Linked DNA regions of Homo sapiens: region 1 is linked to region 2. The links are contacts of gene promoters, found by promoter capture Hi-C in blood cells and fetal thymus (Javierre and others, 2016). All regions are on one chromosome and are shown on one strand. The core of a region is centred on a gene start or on the middle of the fragment in contact, and the rest is flanking DNA. Distances in the headings are between cores, read along the strand shown.

Region 1 (6,845 bases), core at 719-3,218, 180 kb after region 2:
TGTGTCCATGGCGTCAGGAAACCCTTGGTCCTCTACTCTCATGCGTGTGTCCGCCCTCACTCTCCAGGTCCTCCCGACGGCCATGAACACTACATCTTCTGCAGCACCCCCCTCACTAGGTGTAGAGTTCATCTCTCTGCTGGCTATCATCCTGCTGTCAGTGGCGCTGGCTGTGGGGCTTCCCGGCAACAGCTTTGTGGTGTGGAGTATCCTGAAAAGGATGCAGAAGCGCTCTGTCACTGCCCTGATGGTGCTGAACCTGGCCCTGGCCGACCTGGCCGTATTGCTCACTGCTCCCTTTTTCCTTCACTTCCTGGCCCAAGGCACCTGGAGTTTTGGACTGGCTGGTTGCCGCCTGTGTCACTATGTCTGCGGAGTCAGCATGTACGCCAGCGTCCTGCTTATCACGGCCATGAGTCTAGACCGCTCACTGGCGGTGGCCCGCCCCTTTGTGTCCCAGAAGCTACGCACCAAGGCGATGGCCCGGCGGGTGCTGGCAGGCATCTGGGTGTTGTCCTTTCTGCTGGCCACACCCGTCCTCGCGTACCGCACAGTAGTGCCCTGGAAAACGAACATGAGCCTGTGCTTCCCGCGGTACCCCAGCGAAGGGCACCGGGCCTTCCATCTAATCTTCGAGGCTGTCACGGGCTTCCTGCTGCCCTTCCTGGCTGTGGTGGCCAGCTACTCGGACATAGGGCGTCGGCTACAGGCCCGGCGCTTCCGCCGCAGCCGCCGCACCGGCCGCCTGGTGGTGCTCATCATCCTGACCTTCGCCGCCTTCTGGCTGCCCTACCACGTGGTGAACCTGGCTGAGGCGGGCCGCGCGCTGGCCGGCCAGGCCGCCGGGTTAGGGCTCGTGGGGAAGCGGCTGAGCCTGGCCCGCAACGTGCTCATCGCACTCGCCTTCCTGAGCAGCAGCGTGAACCCCGTGCTGTACGCGTGCGCCGGCGGCGGCCTGCTGCGCTCGGCGGGCGTGGGCTTCGTCGCCAAGCTGCTGGAGGGCACGGGCTCCGAGGCGTCCAGCACGCGCCGCGGGGGCAGCCTGGGCCAGACCGCTAGGAGCGGCCCCGCCGCTCTGGAGCCCGGCCCTTCCGAGAGCCTCACTGCCTCCAGCCCTCTCAAGTTAAACGAACTGAACTAGGCCTGGTGGAAGGAGGCGCACTTTCCTCCTGGCAGAATGCTAGCTCTGAGCCAGTTCAGTACCTGGAGGAGGAGCAGGGGCGTGGAGGGCGTGGAGGGCGTGGGAGCGTGGGAGGCGGGAGTGGAGTGGAAGAAGAGGGAGAGGTGGAGCAAAGTGAGGGCCGAGTGAGAGCGTGCTCCAGCCTGGCTCCCACAGGCAGCTTTAACCATTAAAACTGAAGTCTGAAATTTGGTCAACCTTGTGAGTGGGGTACATGTGCTGTGGGTATCGGGGTGCTCGTGGGCGCCCTGGTGGGGCCCCTCTCGGTAGTTGAGAGTCACGTCCTTTAGTTCCCCATGATTTACAATTTTGGAAGGGACACAAAGAAACATAGACTTCCCCCATCCCAGATGATTCCGAGTACATAGTCTGCAGATAATACTTAGCAAAACGCAGTCTACAGACTCCTAAAGCAGCTTGTCTAGGAAGACCACCCATGTGGGCTTATCACTCCAGGTTCTGTGACCCGGGACCTTCTGAGAAAACAGCACTGCTGTGAAATATCTTCCTTGAAGCCTGTGATAAGTCTCCTTGTTAGAATGACTCCAACTTCCTGCCAATAATCTTTGTCCTCTCCATAGGAGATGTTCTAGGGGATGCCTTCCTTCCCTCCATTTCACAAAGAGGCCAGACTTGAGGACTAAGTCATTAGATCTTATCCCTTAGAATTTTGCATATCAGCATCTGCTAACCTCCACAACACACCCTGGCACAGGGTGGGGCTGAGGGCCCCAGGAAACAAAGATTCCCAAAAGTGAGAGGGATGAGTCATTATTTCCTAGAGATGACTGTTGTTTTAGAGAACCTTGGTCCAACTCTGTTCTGACAAGGTTTTAGGAAGATGGCAACAACAGTGGCAGCAGTGTACTTTTTGGATCTTTCTCATAAAAAAACAAAAGAGCAAGTAAGAGAGGGAAACCAAATATCCACATGCAACATCCGCAACAAATCTAGTATGTCAAGGTTTGACATACTCCCATGGACCCCAAAGTATGAGCCAGTGAGAATGAGTCATCAATATCTCAAGACCCATATACCAGCATCTGTGCAGAAGGATGCAGAAGGAAGCAAAGGGATGTTGGATGGACCTAAGAAGAGGAGATCCCCAAGCTGTCTACAGATCCTTACTGGAAGGTATGGTGCACCAATTTGAGAACAGCAGCTGAAACTGGGAGGGACCTAACGGAGTATTTCCCAGTCCTCTCGCCCATTCTGTATGGTGAGCACATAATAGGTACTTATTTAGTGTTTGTCGAATTAATAAAGTTCAAATGACATTTCCCTGGAGATTCTTCCGGTATTTTTGAGTAGGGGGCAGGAAAGGGCAAATTTTTGTTTTGAGTCATGTGGCTAAATTCTTTATGCTTCCAAGGTGTACAAAATACTATAATCAAGTTGGCAGAGAGGCTGAGGGAGTTCTCTTCCTGAGCTTGTGAAAAAAATCACTCCCTTTCAAAATGCTTAGTCTCACATGCATGCATGTGTGCAGGCATGTGCACACACATTCACACACACACTCGCACTAAAATTGGCCTGGGAAGAAGAAGAATTCCCACTGAAGGGCAATGAGAAGGTGATCCCCAGCTATATCAGCAGCTTCAGACATCAATGGGCTCCAGACACCCCAGAGTCTCTTTATTGAGGTTCTTAGAAGGCGAGTGCAATCTCAGCCTAGGGTAGCTGAAGGAGGTCCAGTTCGTGTCAAGTCTGTGTTCAGGAAGTAGGTGCAGAGCTGCCCTTTGCCTTTCACCTTGATGACACCCCGGCTGTAGCAGGTGTAGCCCAGGGACTGTAGGGCCCATGCTGTCTCCTCAGTCACCTACAATTGGAGGGGGGCGAGGGAATATGGAGGTGGCCCTATTCTTAGTCCCCCTCCCCCTATGCCTCCAATGTGGTTCCCTCACTTGGATTTTGCCAAGGACTCCTGTACTCTCCATGCGGCTGGCCACGTTCACTGTGTTGCCCCAAATGTCATATTGCGGCTTCTGGGCCCCAATAACTCCAGCTACTACGGGTCCATGGTTCAACCCTAATGAGGGATGTGGTAATGACAGACTTGGAGAAGGAAGAGGGGAAGAGGAAGCCACAAGGAACTGGAAGGAAGGGAGAAGAGCCTGGGGGGCCCTAGAGGAGAGGAGGGGTCTCTAAGGGCTGGAGGAATGTAGCTTAAGAAAAAGAGTGGGAGAGCCTCGTACCTCCTTGCCCAGCACCTTCACACCCCATCCCAGGGAGTGAGTCAGGAAAGGGGCTTCAGGATGAACTGGGAGCAGCTAACAAAGGACTTGGAGTGGGGCAAGCTCAGGAAGGTGAGGAGGTACCAGACTGCTGCAGCAGGGGAAGTCTCTCACCCACTCGCAGGCGGAAGTTGTTGAATGAATGCTTGTTGATGACGTCCAGCTTAGACCCCAGGGCCACGGCAAATTCCACCATAGTGCCAAGGTGGCTGCAGCTCCGTTCAGCATCCTGGCAATGGGCCCGCCCACCAGGGTGGGCCAGTGAGGGCACAGGAATAAGTCCCACTAATAAGCCCATCAATGAGAGCCCAGAGGAGGATGGTAGGTAAGGAAGGGTTGCCGTACCTGTTGTGCATCCTGTCCAGAGGTGGCATTTAAGCCTGTGGCTGCCATGTAGGTGCTGCCGATGGTCTTGATCTTCTCCACCCCACTGAACTTGGGCTTGGAGAGCAGCTGTATATAGAGAAGAGTCCTGTCCCCAGTCTCTCTTACTCTCTCCATCACCTCTCCCAGAAGCCCAGCCCCAAGCCTTTGGAGTTAAAGGATCAGGCTGTGGGAGTGGAGATAGTGTCAGGAAGGAGAGGGTTGGTGGTGGGCAGTGTTGCTGGAGTGGGTAGATCTGGGGGATCAGAGGAGGTGAGGGAGTACTGTGGAGGGGAGGATTGACTTCATGGCCAGAAAAGCAAAGTGGAAGGAGGTACTGGTGGAAAATTCTAGAATCTAGGACATAGGGTCTGGGAGACTCTTGGAATTTTCACCTCATCAAAATCAGCAATTATCTCATTGAGCAGCCTCAGACACTCTAGGCCCTCATGATTGATGTTGGATTCAGAGTAGAACTCCTTGAAGTCTGGGACTGAGGCGAAGAGGACACAAACGCATTCATAGGACTGGTGGTAGAGATCCTGGGGGAACAGGAGACTGGAGTGAGGGGTGTGTGTCATGTTCCTCTCCCTTCTAGAGGTCTGCGTGGGGCCCTCCTCCCCATGTCCACACTCCTGGTCTCCCTGTTTAAGAAGAATTGGGAAGGAGGGAGAGGAGTAGGGCCAGGCTACCCCAGGGAAGTGACTTAGGAGTCAAAGCTTAGATCTCATTGTAATTCTAGAAGAGACAGAGGTTTGGCGTTAGGATCACCTCACAGCAACACGAAGGGAGTCACTCCTAGAACTGGGATCCTGTCAATGTGAATTATTTCTATATCCTATCTTATTGCTGAAAGGTGTTTAAGTCAATTAAGCCGGCTACAAAACCAAGGGTAAAATGTGTTTAAGTGTTTAAGTCAGTTAAGATAGGTACAAAATGAAAGATGAAGTAAGCAACAATAGGGACTATGAGGCAAAGGGAAAATAAGGGTAAGATAATAAAGATGGAATCAGATCTGAGGGTGGTTCACAAAATGAGTGCCATGAAATCCTATTTAGTCTTAGATTTTGGCTCTCAGCTTTCTAGCAGCCAAAGTGAAGAGAGAAAAGGATCGATTACAAGATTCCTTGTGTCTGTAAGAGAAGAAACCAGAAAAGAACTACTGATCTTGAGAGCAGGGAGCAGGCGGTGGGGGCATAAGGCTGTGAAAGAGCTCCTGAGCTGTTTCTTTTAACATCCCTCAATATGAGCCAAGAGCATTTCCACAGCAGAGGGCCAGCAGATGATACAAATAAGATGGTACAAATATGTGGGTGAATTTCTGATGGTTTGGCGCTAGCAAGATTTTTGAGGATCTAGAGCAGCAGCATCCAATAGAAATTTTTGCAATGGAAACATTCCCTATGTGCAGTGTCCAATAGGGTGGCCACTAGCTACGAGTGGCTGTTGAGCCCTGGAAATGTGGCTGGTGCAACTGAGGAACTGAATATTTTATTTTAATTAATTAACATTAAAATTTCATATGGCTAATGGCTACCATATTGGATAGTGCAGGTCTAGAGAGAGGGGTGGACTGTATCCTCTAGACCAGCAGTCCCCAACCTTTTTGGACCCAAGGATGGGTTTCATGGAAGACAAGTTTTCCACGCACCCAGGCTGTGGTGGGGGATGGTTTTGGGATGAAACTGTTCTACTTCAGATCATCAGGCATTAGTTATTAGGTTGGTGCAAAATTAATTGCATTTCTTTTTTTTTTTTTTTTTTGCCATTAAAAGTAATTACTTTTAGGCCGGGTGCGGTGCGCCTGTAATCTCAGCATTTTGGGAGGCCAAGGTGGGTGGATCACCTGAGATCAGGAGATCGAGATCAGCCTGACCAACATGGTGAAACCCTGTCTCTACTAAAAAAAAAAAATATAAAAAAAATTAGCCAGGCATGGTGGCAGGCGCCTGTAATCCCAGCTACCTGGGAGGCTGAGGCAGGAGAATTGCTTGAACCCAGGAGGCGGAGGTTTCAGTGAGCTGAGACCGTGCCATTACATGCACTCCAGCCTGAGCGACGAGAGTGAAACTCTGTTGCACTCCAGCCTGAGCGACGAGAGTGAAACTCTGTTGCACTCCAGCCTGAGCGATGAGAGTGAAACTGTGTCTTAAAAAAAAAAAAAAGTAATTACTTTTAATTATATTACTTTTAATGGCAAAAACTGCGATTAATTTTGCACCAGCCTAATAGATTTTCATAAGGAGTGTACAACCTAGACCCCTTGCATGTGCAGTTCACAATAAGGTTCAAGTTCCTATGAGAATCTGATGCTGCTACTGATCTGACAAGAGGCAGAGCTCAGGCGGTAGTGCTGGCTCACCGCTCACCTCCTGCTGTGTAGCCCAGTTCCCAACAGGTCATGGACTAGTATCAGTCTGCGGCCTGGGGGCTGGGGACCCCTGCTCCAGACAGCTCCCATCAACGCCTAGGCTTCTGGAATGTATGGAATGGTCATGAGTTAGAGAAGACATGCCTTCCAAGTAAGAATTTGAAATGCAGTTTTGTGCTCACCAAAGAAAGAATCTAAGATGTTGTGAAAACAAAGACGCTTGACAAGCACAAGGGCTTGGGTGACCCTTCTGGGGGTTCTAGAGAAAACGGGCCATAGGTCAAGGCTTTCATCTGAAATTAGGCCCTATGGCATCCGTGGCTCAGGAGTCAGGGGGTCAGGAGTCACCTCGTTGCGCCGGTTCTGGCCAATGAACTGGGGGGCCACGTGTGCAGGGAGCACGTTCTCCAAGAGCAGCCGAGTCAGGTTCTCCATCGTCTCTGTCTCCTCCCTCTCCTGCCTCAGCTTCTTCTTCCACAGGAAGTCCAGGCGGCAGTAGTACTCATTCTGGGGAGGGTCACCCGGGGCCATGGGGAGACACAGAGCAGGGGAAGCCCAGCTCCTGAGTGTTCAGCCCCAACTCCATGATGCCTGAAACCACCCCCACCCCACCCCCAGTTTAGAAGTAGAGCTTAAGGTGTAAGTATACTTGGAGAGAGACTATCCTTGAAATTAGATTCAGACTAGGGATAGAGAA
Region 2 (6,746 bases), core at 925-3,424:
CTGCGAGCTAATAATTATATATGTATAATATATATATTTATATATTATATATATTATTATATATTTTATATATAATATTTGCATATATAATATATATATAATTTTTTTTTAAAGACAGAGACCTGGCAGTGATGGCAGTGTAATCCCAGCACTTTGGGAGGCTGAGGCAAGAGGATCACTTGAGCCCAGGAGTTTGAGACCAGCCTGGGCAAGATGGTGAGACCCTGTCTGTATAAAAATTTTTTTTAAAAGGTAAAACATTTTTTACATTTTTATTTTTATTTTATTTTTATTATTTTTTTGGAGACAGAGTCTCACTCTGTTGCCCAGGCTGGAGTGCAATTCTGGCTCACTGCAACCTCCACCTCTCAGGTTCAAGCGATCTCCTGTCTCAGCCTCCCGAGTAGCTGGGATTACAGGCCCCCACCACCACACCCGTCTAGTGTTTGTATTTTTAGTAGGCACAGGGTTTCACCATGTTGGCCAGGCTGGTCTCGAACTTCTGACCTCAAGTGATCTGCCTGCCTTGGCCTCCCAAAGTGCTGGGATTAGAGGCGTGAGTCACTGTGCCCGGCCATTTTTACATTTTTTAATGGTTGAAAAAGCAAAAGAATAAGAATATTTTATTACAGGAGAAAGTTACATGAAATTCAAATTCCAGTGTCTATAAAATGTTATCTCACCAAACTAATTCATTTACATATGGCAGCTTTCCTACTACAATGGCAGAGTTGAGTAGACAGACACTGTAAGGCCTATAAAGCCTAAAATATTTACTCTCTGGCCCTTTATAGAAAAAGTTGGCCAGACGCGGTGGCTCATGCCTGCAATCCCAGCACTTTGGGAGGCCGAGGCGGGCGGATCACGAGGTCAGGAGATCGAGTCCATCCTGGCTAACATGGTGAAACCCCGTCTCTACTAAAAATACAAAAAATTAGCCGGGCGTGGTGGGACGCGCCTGTAGTCCTAGCTACTCCGTAGGCTGAAGCAGGAGAATCGCTTGAACCCTGGAGGTGGAGGTTGCAGTGAGCCTAGATGGTGCCACTGCACTCCACCCTGGGCGACAGAGCGAGACTCCGTCCCCCAACACACACACACACACACACACACACACACACGTTTGCCAAAACCTGGTTTAAATCAGTAAATTATCCTGGAAAAAAAAAAAAAAACACCTGGCTAATATCAGAGAGATAAATGCTATGAATGTACTAAAACAGGATGATTTGTAATAGATTTGGAGGGAGGTTCCTTATAAAGGATGATGAAAATAGTTCTCTCTGAAGAGGTGACATCTAAACTGAGAACCGAATGACAACACCCAGGGTAAGGGTGTTTTAGGCAAAGGGATTATTAGCAAGGGCAAAGGCCCTGAGGCAGAAATGAACATGACACATCTGAGAAACAAATAGCCCAAATATTTGCAAGTGTAATGAATGAAGGGGCAAGCAGTAGAAAGTGGACTTAAAGGGGAGACAGGTGCGACAGCCTTTTGGATTTCATTCAAAGGTCAACAGGCAGCTGAGAAAGGGTTTTAAGCCAGAGAGAGGCATGAACCCGCTGCTCCGTGAGAGTGGGTTATAGAATGGCATCTGCAGCCGTGGTCCAGGAGAGAGTTGGTCCGGGCTTGGATAGGGATGCTGCCAGCTCTGGTGCCGGTGTTGCTACAGGTGCGCAGGATGTCGGCAGAGCCAGAGGCCCACGCTAGCAAGGCTAGGAAAGACAGGCCAGGTCTTATTCCATCTCTAGGGAAAGACGGAAGAGCCCTAAGTAAAGCTTATCTGTCCCAGGCGGAGCAGGGGAAGAAGAGAGCAGGTGGGGAGCCAGTTGGGAGGCGGGAGGTGGAGGTTGGGACGCGGAGAGACTGGCTTGGGCTTGGCGATGGGAGGACCCGGACCCGCCGTCCTCAGGCGGCGGGCGGCAGGTGGCGGGAGGCGGGAGGCGGGGACCGGGCCAGCGGAGGTGGGGAGCCTGGAAGCTGGCCCTCGCGAGGCGGCGCGGGGAGGGTGGGTGAAGAGCGCCTGTGCGCGCTAGGCGGAGCCTCACCCGCCGCCCTCCTCTGCGGCACCGCCCCTTCCATGGCAGGGCTGACCCCGCCTCCTCCATCCGACCCCGCCTCCTCCAGCCCTCCCCGCCCCACTACCCAGGAAGGCGGAGCTGGGTGCGAGCGCCCTACCGCTTTCGCTTTCCCTTCGCGGTGCCCACTCCACTCCTTGTGCGGCGCTAGGCCCCCCGTCCCGGTCATGGCCATGCTCAGGGTCCAGCCCGAGGCCCAAGCCAAGGTGAGCGCCGCGGGGTCTAGAAAGGGCCCACTGGGGAGGCGTGGCTGGAGCGGCCGGGGGCATCCCCGACCCGCCCCCCAGGCTCCCACGCGAGTCGGGGGCAGTCGGCCGAGCTGGCGCGCCCGGAGCACCTGCGCCCCGGGGAGGGCGGCGACTGCTGCCTGCGGGGAGAGGCGAGGCGGCCGTGGTTCTGCGGGGTGAGGTGAAGCGGAGAGCTGGCGTGGAGGGGAACTCCGCTGGCCTGGGGCCGGGGCCACACACAGACTGGGTGCGGGACTGCCCCAGCTACCTTCTGGCCTTTCCCTCAGGGAGGGTCCCGGGGCCCACCCCATCCCTGTCCTACTTGCAGAGGACTCTCAGCACCCCTCCTCACACCTGCCAGGCGACCCCAGAGATCTGTTCTCACGTGAACACTGGCCCTTCACCGCCAGGAATGTTCTCATCCCCCATATCCAGCCCCAGGGATACCCACTCCACTTTCCGTAGATCCAGGTCTGCAGAGATCCACCTTCTCCACCACCCCAACCCACCCTACAGGCATCCATCTCGCTTTCTTCAGGTCTGGCCTTAGAGGGATCCCCTCCACCCTTCCCCAGGTCAGGCCCTACATAACCCTAAGGGAACTGTCCTCAAATGAACTGGCCTTAAAGCCAAGTTTCTGAAGGGATGCGTGTGCCCCACAGGTGGATGTGTTTCGTGAAGACCTCTGTACCAAGGTAAGACATGCCCCATCAGCGTGGCCCCACCCCTGCCCAACTCCTACTGCTCAACCCTGCCTCACTACCTAGGACGGGCATTTGATGCTGACTCCCATCCTCCTCCACCCCCACCTCACACACAGACAGAGAACCTGCTCGGGAGCTATTTCCCCAAGAAGATTTCTGAGCTGGATGCATTTTTAAAGGTACCGCGGCTGGGCAGGGAGCTAGGGAGTAAAGGCCAAGAGAAGAGTCTGGAGGCTGTGAGAGTGAGGTGAGAGGAACTCCCTCACCTCCAGCCCTCCTCCCACCCTACACCAGGAGCCAGCTCTCAATGAAGCCAACTTGAGCAATCTGAAGGCCCCATTGGACATCCCAGTGCCTGATCCAGTCAAGGAGAAAGAGAAAGAGGAGCGGAAGAAACAGCAGGAGGCAAGCTGGGAAGACCTGGGAGAAGGGATCCAACTATGGGGGTAATCAACCTTAGTCCTGACTCTCATGAGCTCCTCTCTTTCTGCAGAAGGAAGACAAGGATGAAAAGAAGAAGGGGGAGGATGAAGACAAAGGTACTTGAAACCACAATGGTGGGAAGAGACTTGAGTCCCACTCACAGGAGCTCCTCCTAAGGATTTCTTTCCAGTCTCCCCTTCGCCCCTCACACAGGCTCAATCATGTGACTGACCCATTGCTCACTCTCTAGGTCCTCCCTGTGGCCCAGTGAACTGCAATGAAAAGATCGTGGTCCTTCTGCAGCGCTTGAAGCCTGAGATCAAGGATGTCATTGAGCAGCTCAACCTGGTAAGCCCTCCCCCTTAAACTCTCAGGCTTCAAGTCAAACCATTGTCCTCTTGGTCCCTGCCATTTAGGGCCTGGCACTTGCCAGGTTTTAGCAAGAGAGGGCACAGCAAGTGAAACCAGAAGTCCAGGCCCTGGGGCTCAGGATAGACCCGGCACGCCTCCACCCAGTGTGGGGAGGGAAGCAAGGGAGAATATGAAACTGGGAATTGGGTAGAGGGCTGATGTGGCATTATGCCATTCCCTCTTCCCAGGTCACCACCTGGTTGCAGCTGCAGATACCTCGGATTGAGGATGGTAACAATTTTGGAGTGGCTGTCCAGGTGAGAGCGCTGCCCCACTTCCCTGCTCTTTTCTAGTCCATGCTTCCTTCCACTTTCCCCCTTGCTTTTTTTCCCTAGGAGAAGGTGTTTGAGCTGATGACCAGCCTCCACACCAAGCTAGAAGGCTTCCACACTCAAATCTCTAAGTGAGTGACCACCCATGTGCACACTGTTTTTGTTTTGGGAGACCTCCTTCTTCTACTCCATACACACTTCTCCTTCCACAGGTATTTCTCTGAGCGTGGTGATGCAGTGACTAAAGCAGCCAAGCAGCCCCATGTGGTAGGTGAGGCCCAGGTCAGGGTGCATGGGGGAAGGACACATGTAAGGTCAGGCCTGACCCGAGCTTCCCACAGGGTGATTATCGGCAGCTGGTGCACGAGCTGGATGAGGCAGAGTACCGGGACATCCGGCTGATGGTCATGGAGATCCGCAATGCTTATGTGAGGAGGCAAGGGCAGGGCAGGGGTGGGCAGAGGCAGCTTTCCCAGGCCACCCACTCCCTGACCCTGCAGGCTAGGGGTTAAGGGTGACAAAGCTCAGCTTCTCCACAAGGCTAGAAATGGGGCACAGAGCCACTGGAGGCCTCTGACTGACCTCTACTCCCTGGCCCTGTAGGCTGTGTTATATGACATCATCCTGAAGAACTTCGAGAAGCTCAAGAAGCCCAGGGGAGAAACAAAGGGAATGATCTATTGAGAGCCCTCTCTCCCATTCTGTGATGAGTACAGCAGAGACCTTCCTGCTTTTTACTGGGGACTCCAGATTTTCCCCAAACTTGCTTCTGTTGAGATTTTTCCCTCACCTTGCCTCTCAGGCACAATAAATATAGTTATACCACTGCCCATCAGCCCAAGTCTCTTTATTGGAACCGGGCCCCGCTGGCCCTGGCTCAGGCATTTCCATTTCCATTAGTGGGACCAACCCACTGGGTGATTTGAGTGTTGAGCCGCTGGTTGGTCCAGTCCTGCCGGATGTCATCAAGGTGGCAGTCAAAGTCCACAAGGTGCTGGTGGGCCCGATCTTCCAGTAGAGCTCCCACCATCTGCCGTGACTCTTCCCAGTCCCTCCACATCACTCTGAAATAGTAACCCCCATGGAGGTCAAACAGCAAGTAGTGGGTCCAGACACAGACTTAACAGAGATTGGGTCTAGAGAAAGACCCTTGGGGCAGGGCCAAGGACAGAGGAGACCCAGGAGCCTTGGGCTTCTAAGAAGAGGTAGAGGGAGTGGGGTACTCACAAGTTCTTATCCTTAGGGACCCAGCGGAGACCTTGGTTCTCCAGGACGATGACCGGGGGCACACGAGGCTGAGGCACCAGTTTCTGATTATCCAACTGAGTGGACAAAGATGGGCAAGTGAGAGTTTCAAGGGTCCCCCCACCCTACTTGCTTTTCACCTCCCCACCCAGAAACCCAAGCCTCACCATAATAAGTACTGCATCAGGGAAGAATTCTGCAATTCGCCCAGCAATTTTCAAGGCCAGGGGCCCAGGGCTGTGTAGAGGGAAGATCAGAGGAGTGAGGAGCCAACTGTGGGCAAAACCCATCCATTTGAGCTGGGCCTCCCAGGTCTCATAGGTGTGGGCGCAGCTGTGGCCTTTCCCTGTAGGTGGCCTGCGGGGATCGGGCCTGCTGGATGCTTGATGCACGACTGCTTGATGCTTGAGTGCTGTGGGAGACAGGTGCTCAGATATTGCTGGTGAGAGTGGAAACCAAAGGTGGTCTTTTTGGAAGGTAATTTGGCATAACCATCCAAATTGAAACTGTATACATACTATACATATGCTGACCCAGAAATTCTACTTATAAAGAATTTATGGTAATCATAGGACAGTGTCTGTAATAAAACACTGGAAACAACCTCAATGTTTAAAGTATTAAATAAATTAGAGTACATTCATATTCAGACTATATAGCTGTTACGGTAGATCTTGGTGTGGAAATGGGATGATGTCAAGTATTTATTAAGTGAGGGAGAAACGCAAATTACAAAACAGTACCTCTAATTGCTCCATGTATATGATTAATATATATATATATATATATATGTCTTTTCCTATATGTATATATATAAGGAAACTGCCTTATTTTTGAAGTTGCTGGTTGGGATTTCTCTGTTCTTTCAGCCCCTGGGGGACACCTCAGTTAAAGCAAGATCAGTCTGTTGGCCGAGAGTGGTGGCTCACGCCTGTAATCCCAGCACTTTGGGAGTCCGAGGCGCGTGGATCACCTGAGGTCAAGTTCTAGACCAGCCTGGCCAACATGGCGAAACCCCATCTCTACTAAAAATAAAAAATAATAATAAATTAAAAAAATAAAAAAAATTAGCCGGGCATGGTGGCGCTCATCTGTGATCCCAGCTACTCGGGAGGCTGAGGCAGGAGAATCGCTTGAATCTAGGAGGTGGAAGTTCCAGTGAGCCGAGATTGCGCCACTGCACTCCAGCCTGGGAGACAGAGGGAGACTCCGTCTCAAAAAAAAAAAAAAAATCAGTCTGTTGATACACAGTTGTCCTCCCCGCCCCAACGGCACTCCAGGGCAGGGCTCTGTCCTATTCATCTTTATATTCCCTCACTCCAGTACCCAGCATAGTGCCTGGTGTAAAGCCCCTGCTCCTAAGCGTTTGATGAAGGAAAGATAAAAGG

What was found. Contacts are between HindIII fragments. The CHiCAGO score rates a contact against its expected background, and 5 or more counts as called.
Region 1: a fragment that was not itself captured here is called in contact with the fragment with the promoter of PSME1 in region 2 in 1 of 17 cell types (total CD8 T cells); the score reaches 5.1 in total CD8 T cells.

Annotation. Positions count from the first base shown.
Region 1 is chr14:24,315,570-24,322,414 of GRCh38, forward strand. It overlaps LTB4R (leukotriene B4 receptor), which reads left to right. Exons shown (of 2, transcript NM_001143919.3): 2 at 68-2,467. The coding sequence starts at 83. The coding sequence ends at 1,141. ADCY4 (adenylate cyclase 4) reads right to left here. Exons shown (of 25, transcript NM_001198568.2): 20 at 6,497-6,655; 21 at 4,173-4,319; 22 at 3,760-3,867; 23 at 3,529-3,643; 24 at 3,085-3,209; 25 at 2,790-2,999. The coding sequence ends at 2,847. Among named protein-coding and RNA genes, the nearest start is that of LTB4R, 7.5 kb to the left of the region's middle. RefSeq lists enhancers at 511-1,011, 6,043-6,845. The HindIII fragment of the contact is 5,052 bases long and covers 1-4,494 here.
Region 2 is chr14:24,134,020-24,140,765 of GRCh38, forward strand. It overlaps PSME1 (proteasome activator subunit 1), which reads left to right and starts at 2,175. Exons shown (of 11, transcript NM_006263.4): 1 at 2,175-2,282; 2 at 2,966-2,998; 3 at 3,124-3,186; 4 at 3,302-3,412; 5 at 3,501-3,546; 6 at 3,681-3,778; 7 at 4,030-4,098; 8 at 4,177-4,244; 9 at 4,326-4,380; 10 at 4,455-4,541; 11 at 4,717-4,943. The coding sequence starts at 2,244. The coding sequence ends at 4,797. EMC9 (ER membrane protein complex subunit 9) reads right to left here. Exons shown (of 6, transcript NM_016049.4): 4 at 5,526-5,595; 5 at 5,341-5,435; 6 at 4,946-5,177. The coding sequence ends at 4,991. RefSeq lists silencers at 1,749-2,168, 2,219-2,508. The HindIII fragment of the contact is 8,418 bases long and covers 1,775-6,746 here.